Linked DNA regions of Homo sapiens: region 1 is linked to region 2. Evidence: promoter capture Hi-C in 16 types of primary human blood cells and fetal thymus (Javierre and others, 2016). All regions are on one chromosome and are shown on one strand. Each heading gives the region's core, a stretch centred on a gene start or on the middle of the fragment in contact. The rest is flanking DNA. Distances are from core to core; before and after follow the strand shown.

Region 1 (3,573 bases), core at 283-2,782, 2.6 Mb before region 2:
GACCTGAATGAGATTGGAGACTATTATTCTAAGTGAAGTAACTCAGGAGTGGAAAAACCAAACATCGTAGTTCTCACTCATAAGTGGGAGCTAAGCTATGAGAATGCAAAGGCATAAGAATAACACAATGGGCTTTGGGGACTTGGCGGGGAATGGCGGAGGGCAGCGGGGCAAGGGATAAAAGACTACAAATGGGGTGCAGTGTATACTGCTCAGGTGATGGGTGCACCAAAATCTCACAAATCGCCACTAAAGAACTTACTCATGTAACCAAACACCATCTGTTCCCCAATAACCTACGGAAATAAAAAACAATCAGCAAAAAGCAAGAAAATTCGTTAATGCGCATGGAAACCTAAGATAATTAACATTAAATTTAAATATGTTGAATCAATAAGAGAATTCGGCAAGAAGCAATGTTAAGGGATAAAAACCAAAAGCTTTTCTCTAACACCTGCAGCACCGGGCTCGACCCGCCTTAGAACCCTCACGCCTGGGGGCGCCAGGACAGGGCTCACAGGTCAATGGGTCGGGTAGGCTGTAAAGAGACAAGGTGGAGGTTCCAGGTTGAAAATGTATAAAATTGTAAAGTAAATTCAAAGTTATATCATTTCAATGCTAAATACTTCAGTAGTGATCCCTTTTTTTAAAAAAAAAATTTCTACAAAATTCTTAATTTTTTTTCACAGTTCACAAAAGTAATGGTACTTTTTTTCAATATTTGCAATTCCCAATCCATATTCAGCTTCCCAATTGTCTCCGAAAGTCTTACGGAAAAAAAAAATGTTGGTTCAACCGGGAACCAATGGAGGGCTACTCTTTGTATTTGTCAGTAGCGTTTAAGTTTTAACCTTTAACTTCTCCCTGTTCTTGGAGAGCCTGAGCGGGAGACTTCATAAAAACTCCATCCCCGCCAATTCTGAATCGCCGAAACGTGAGGAGTCACGTCGAAGGCGGACGCAAGAGCTTATGGGAAATGTAGTCCTGAATGAGTCTGGTTCGCCGCGCAGCACTCTGGGATGGGGCTCCTGGGCTCCTTCTGCGCCTGTGCAGCCAGAGCCCCGCCTCCTCATTTGGGTTCTCGAGACTCCCGGGAAGCGGTTTGGGAAGCTCGGGGGTCGGCTCGGAAAGTAGAGGGGGCGCAGCTGGGGCGGGAGGACAGCGTTTGTGCCCGGAAGCGGGAGAGGAAGCGGGAAGTTTGTGGGATCCCCGCCCCCTGTGTCAGTGGATGCGACCGGGCGGGCCCTCGGCCTTCCCGGCCGCTGGAGAGGGACTTCGGCCGCTGGCTCCCGGGGCGGCTGAGGCTGAGCGTTGGTCCGGAGCAGGTGCCGGGTGCGGGCCGCGGTGTGCGGGACCGGAGCCCGGCGCGAGCGGCGGCGGGGGTGGGGAAAGCGCATTTGTAACGCGGGCGACAACGTGCCCGAAATCCCCGGACGGTGGGTCTGCATCGAGACCCCGAGCTCTGGAGCTGGAAAAACCCGGGTAAGTTCCATCTCTGTCAACTGGAAGCCGAGGCGAATGTAGGGACGTGGATGAGAGTCAGGTTTCTCATCTGAAAGTGAGGGTATTAATAATGACTGCTTCATGGCGTTGGTTTAAAACTTTAAGTCACCACCTGTAAAGCAAACAGCCGACTGTAGGCTACTAAGCCATGAGCGGACTGCTGCTGTTATATTTAGAAGACACTTTGTTCCATTCGTTGGGTGCCTATGTATACCTCACAACCACATCTGCATTAAATATAACTGAGGCTCAGGTCACAAGCTAGCAGTGAGGGAGCTGGGGTTCAAAGGCAGGTGTGATTTATTTCCCGTTTCAGGCGCTAATATCACACCTGCCTAAAACCAGCATTGCAGCCTTCACAGCACTTAGCAGAATGTCATGTCCCCAAATACTCAGGGAGTGGATGTAGATGGAATCTTACCATGTGTCAAATGTAGTCTGGATTTCTGGTGTGTCTTCAGATCTCTTGGGTCAGACAGGTTCCTGGCCCCTTCTGCATTGTCAGGGTGTCTCTCTTTTAAGTCTGATGTAAAGAATTCTAAGAGTCAGATTTTTGCCACTAACATGGTTTCTCAGGTCAGGTCGCAGGCTCCTTGAACAGAGCAGCCCTTGCGAGGTGGGAAGCAGGGGTCTCTGTGAACAGTTTTACCTGGAAGAGAACACCTCTCAGACCTAGGCCTCCCTCCCGAGCTTCAGAGCAGAGGCAGAAGAGCCCACAGAGGAGCAGATCCTAGATGTGTATGGTCAGAAGCAGTTCTTGATCCTCCTTCCCAGAATGAGCCAGACTTGGTGAAGCCTCCAGAAGCCACCACACAATGGGTGACAGTGGGTGGTTTGGGCCAGCTTTGAGAAGAGCAAAATGGGCTAGGTGGTGGCCAGGGACAGGCTGCTCAGGAAAGGCCACATCATTGCATAGGTCTGAGGGTAGGGGTAACCGGAGATTCTGTCCCCAGATCCCAAAGTAGCCCCCAGTCGCTTTGTTCTCCACTCTTTACAGATGCCATACTGCTGTTAACATATGTGACACTGGAGACTTTGTCCCTACCTCATAGAATCCCATGCATGATGATACATGAAGGGTTTTCCGTGGCTATCTACTTCTGATTCTTTTGAAAGCTTTAAAGACATTGGGCATGAAAGGTTCAGTGAGTTTCCGGGGATCCCTCGTTTGTGGTAGAGCCAGGAGGAAAACAGTTCCGTTCATTCTTTCACAGGTGAGTCACCAAAAGCATCTTATCCAAAGGGCCTTTTGAGAAATACATCCCAGTTAAAACATCTAAAACTCTTTGCCTTAAAGTATCTCATCTCTTTTATAAGACTTTCTGTGGATTGTCTATACCAAGGGTAAATAATATTACTAAGAAAAATAGTTAAATGATGCACACTGAATATTTTTCTGCTAAGTTAATTTTGTGTTTTGGAGACAGAGTCTCATCCTGTTGTCCAGGCAGGAGTGCAGTGGCACAAACATGGCTCACTGCAGCCTCTACCTCCTGGGCTCAAGTGATCCTCCTGCCTCAGCCTCCCAAGTAGCAGGGACCACAGGCGCATGCCACCACACCTGGCTAATTTTTTAAGTTTTTATTTTCTGTAGAGACAAGGTCATGCCATGTTGCCCAGGTTGGTCTTGAACTCCTGAGCTCAAGCTGTCCTCCCTCTTTGGCCTCCCGAAGTGCTGGGGTTACAGGCTTGAACCACAGTACCTGCTAGGTTAATTTTAATGAAAGAATAGTGTCTTACCCTGTGGTGTACTTTAATTCAACTAATCCTGTATTGTCTTTATTTTTGTGTGTGTGTTAGAAGCACATGTGCATTGTTAAATCAATTGGGAAAAGTTTATGTTCACTCAATAAAAAACAGCAGTTTAAGCCCCATAATTATTTCAGAGTTGTCGTAGACAGTGCCACCTCTACGTGGTGCTTCTCATGCCTTTTCAAGGCCTGAAGGGCCCTGTTACCTTAGGAAGGCTGCTCTCCAACTGGGTTGCTGAGATTTGGGGAGGCTAATCTAGGAGCTGTGAGGTAGGCGAGACCGTGTGACATCCTCTTTCTGTCCCCCCAGCTGAGGCTT
Region 2 (3,960 bases), core at 427-2,926:
GTGGCGGGCGCCTGTGGTACCAGCTACTCAGGAGCCTGAGGCAGAGAATTGCTTGAACCCGGGAGGCCGTGGTTGCAGTGAGCTGAGATCACTCCACTGCACTCCAGCCTGGGCGACAGAGTGAGACTTCATCTCAAAAAAAAAAAAAAAAAAAAAAAAAATGTAGGTTTGGATGCCTTCCACCCAACTTCTTCCCCCACCTCCAGGAATTCAAGGAGTCACTCAACAGCCCCCTGAGGCTTGAGAAAAATGTTCCTTGGCCCTATGGGCACCATTCTGCTTGTTGCAACCCATGCTCCCGGAAGGGTCCCCAAGTCCGAGGGAGCCACACAGCTGCAGAAGCCGACAATCTGGATACAAGCACGCCCCCATGCAACCCACAACCCAGGGATGTCTAACTCCAGGCAAGCCCTTCTCAACTCACCAACTTGGGTCCCCAGGCCCCAAGGCTACTGACCCGAGTCGCACGGCCCTAGCCGTCCCCCCCCCCACTATCAAGACCAAGTCTGGATGTCTACCCACAAACAATCCTCCCCCACAAACCCGGGTCCTAGTGGCCAAGCTGCACCATCACCACCACAGTGCACCAGCCATCCACAAGAGCCCTAATAACTGGACTGAGGTTGGGCACGGTGGCTCACGCCTGTAATCCCAGTACTTTGGGAGGCCGAGGCGGGGGGATTACTTGAGGTCAGGAGTTCGAGACCAGCCTTGCCAACATGGTGAAACCCCGTCTCTACTAAAACACAAAATATTAGCCGGGCGTGGTGGCGTGCGCCTGTAGTCCCAGCTACTCGGGAGCCTGAGGCAGGGGAATCACGCCACTGCACTCCAGCCTGGGCGACAAGAGCGAAACTCTGTCTCAAAAAAACAAAACAAAACAAAAACCAAAAAATTAGCCGGGCGTGGTGGCGGGTGCCTGTAATCCCAGCTGCTCGGGAGGCTGACGCGGGAGCATGGCTTGAACCCGGCGGCTGGGGTGGGGCGCGGAGATTGCAGTGAACCGAGATTGCGCCACTGCACTCCAGCCTGGGCGACAGAGAGAGACTCTGTTTCAAAAATAAATAAATAAATAAATAAAATTTAATAAATAAACAAATAAACAACCCGACTGATGCCCAAGCCGCGTGCCTCCCACTAATGGGGAAGTTTGCTCCAACCGAGGATATCATGTCCTCCAAAGGCACATTTGCTGGCCCAGAGACCTCCGAGGCGCGATGGTGGGGAGGGGATGGCGGGATACTAGTGGCAGGATGCTGTCTGGGTACCCCAGGCAGAGCCCACTCAGCGGCCCCCGAAGTACCGGGGACGCACCTGCGAAGTAGCTCGGGAAGTCGGTCCCAGGCCTGCACTGGCCCCTCCAGGTCAACATACTGGGCCCAAAGTCCCGCCAGAAGCACGCGACAACGCCAACGCCCCCTCCCCACCAGAGGACCTCCGCCAAGACCTCTCTCCGGGGTGGACCACGCACGCCCAGACCCCACAGCCGAAACTCAAAACACCAAGGAACATGTGGCCACGACATGGACTGCCCATGCCAGCTTTCCCGACCTTCCTTCCAGTGGAAGGCCCGCGAAAGCGGGGACCACCTCCGGGCTAGCTCACCAGAACTGTGAAAGGACACTCACCACGCACCAGGCGACGATGCCGGAACGCGGAAGTACGCGAGCCGGACTGCCCCTGGGCACGGAACTACACTACCCAGACTGCCACGGGGCGCGCAACTACCCTACCGTGGATGCCCTGGAGCGAGGGACTACAACATCCAGAATGCTGCGAGGGGCGGGACCGCAGCATCCAGGAGAAATTGTGAAAAATCAGAAAGTAAAATCTAACTTTCGGGTCTATGAGAAGGGTGGTCAGGTGAGCAGTAAGTCTTCTTTAACTTTTTATACGGTCCTTCTAATTTTTTTTTTTTTTAAAAAGATGTTACATGTCCTCCATCCTGCAAATTCACACCTGTGATTGTACACCCCTGAACTTTATCTACTTACTTATTTTTTGAGAAGGGGTCTTGCTCTGTCGGCCAGGCTGCAGTACAATGGTGTGATCATAGCTCACTGCAGCCTCAAACCCCTGGCCAAGCAATCCTCTCACCTCAACTTTCTGAGTAGCTGGGAATACAGGTGCATAGCACCACACCGGGCTAATTTTTTGTTTTGTTTTTTAGAATCTGGGTCTCGCGGCCGGGCGCGGTGGCTCACGCCTGTAATCCCAGCACTTTGGGAGGCTGAGGCGGGCGGATCAGAGGTCAGGAGTTCGAGAGCAGCCTGGCCAATGTGGTAAAATCCCGTCTCTACTAAAAATACAAAAATTACCTGGGCGTCGTGATGGGCGCCTGTAGTCCCGGCTACTCAGGAGGGTGAGGCAGGAGAATCACTTTGAACTCGGGAGGTGGAGGTTGCAGTGAGCCAAGATCGCACCACTGTACTCCAGCCTGGACAACAGAGTGAGATTCCTTCTCAAGGGGGAAAAAAAAAAAAAAGAATCTGGGTCTCGCTATGTTGACCAGGCTGGTCTGGAACTCCTGGCCTCAAGCAATTTTCCCACTTCAGGCTCCCAAAGTGCTGGGATTACAGGCGTGAGCCGTCCTTGTGGCCCAGGCTGCCTTTCGAGTTTATTTAGGGCCCTCTAGCCAGAGGTGGTGAGATTGGCAGTAACTCAAATTCCAACTGCTGGGATAGGTGATTCTCCTCGGGCTAAGGCTGGTGTAAATACTCCCTCCATGCGTGAGAATCAGCTGTGTTTGATCCAGTTTTGCTTTCTGGTATAACAGGGCAGCACTGAGTTCAATGCAATGTCTCATCATTGCTGTGCTTGCCGTCTCCCAAGAACATAGATTCTCTCTCCGCACCACAGAGCCACTGCTGGGGGATGGGTCAGGGGCATTGGTGATTCAAGACTGTCTTTCCTACCTTTTCAGTGCCTCTTTCAGTCATATGAAGTAAAAACCAGGTACTGCGAGTGCTTACCTGATTTTTGGTTCTTGTGAAGGTGCTTTTGTGTGTAAATAGTTGTTAACTTGTTTTTCTTACAAGGGGGAATGATCAGTGGAGCCTTCCATTCCACCATCTTGCTCCACCTCCCACCCCCATGTTTTAAATGACAGTGTGTATGAATGTACTTCTAAAAATGCCAAAAATACTGGGGTTTTTTTTCCTGTTATAAAGAAGAAGATTCTGAAGTTTTTTTTTTAATTCCAATTGATTACAAGAAGATAAGGAAAAACTAAACTTGAGGACATTTAACACTATAGCAATTAAAGTTATCTTACTAATGCAAAGATTGTTTATTAGATGTAACAGAATAATACGCTCAAAAACATACCAAAGTCTTTGCAAAATGAGTTATACTCTTTTTCTAAGAATTTGATAAAAAGTGGTATTTTTAAGTTACTTCCTATTTGCTTCTTCTCAAAATGAAGTAACAGGAACCAGATTTAGCCCTTCACCTTAATCAACATTTAAAAGGACAAAATATATGAAACATTTGAAGACATTTGACATCAGACAATGAAGAGCAGTGGAAATCATGGAGGTGAGCCTTTGAACTTCCCGCAGATGGAGAGAATTTCCAAGTCATAGCACAGAGAAGGGAAACTCAAGTGAAGCATGGAGTTCAACTTGAGGAGATGGAACTGGGAATCTGAGGAGGCATATGCATCTAGAGTTCACAGGGCAGAGTACAGAAAGGGAGAGAGAGCGCCAGAGATGTGCAGAGAGTCCTCTTCCTCAGGTATTAGTTAAGTGCTGACCAGCATGTACATGTGAGGAAACTCCTCAAAATTAGGGGTAAAAAACACTAGAAAGGGTTAGAGGGCAATACTGTGAGCTCAAAAAGAACAGGAATAATGTCTGTTCCCACGAGACAGAGTGGAAATGCTAATTCACATGGCATCAAGTCATGTACTCGGAAGGGTTTTGCCTCAATAGTGGGGCAAAAATTAACCTAAATGCTTCT

What was found. The method cuts DNA at HindIII sites, captures the fragments that hold promoters and counts their contacts. A CHiCAGO score of 5 or more calls a contact.
Region 1: a contact is called between a fragment that was not itself captured here and the fragment with the promoter of ZNF169 in region 2, in 2 of 17 cell types (fetal thymus and naive CD8 T cells). The highest score is 6.1, in fetal thymus.

Annotation. Positions count from the first base shown.
Region 1 is chr9:96,851,997-96,855,569 of GRCh38, reverse strand. It overlaps ZNF782 (zinc finger protein 782), which reads left to right and starts at 1,056. Exons shown (of 6, transcript NM_001001662.3): 1 at 1,056-1,482; 2 at 2,501-2,717; 3 at 3,565-3,573. RefSeq lists silencers at 1,284-1,353, 1,634-1,723. The HindIII fragment of the contact is 2,179 bases long and covers 443-2,621 here.
Region 2 is chr9:94,257,014-94,260,973 of GRCh38, reverse strand. ZNF169 (zinc finger protein 169) reads right to left here and starts at 1,676. Exons shown (of 5, transcript NM_194320.4): 1 at 1,629-1,676. LINC02603 (long intergenic non-protein coding RNA 2603) reads left to right here and starts at 1,663. Exons shown (of 3, transcript NR_160773.1): 1 at 1,663-1,863. RefSeq lists enhancers at 219-864, 1,194-1,323, 865-1,511, 1,354-1,673, 1,512-2,157. The HindIII fragment of the contact is 11,618 bases long and covers 1-3,960 here.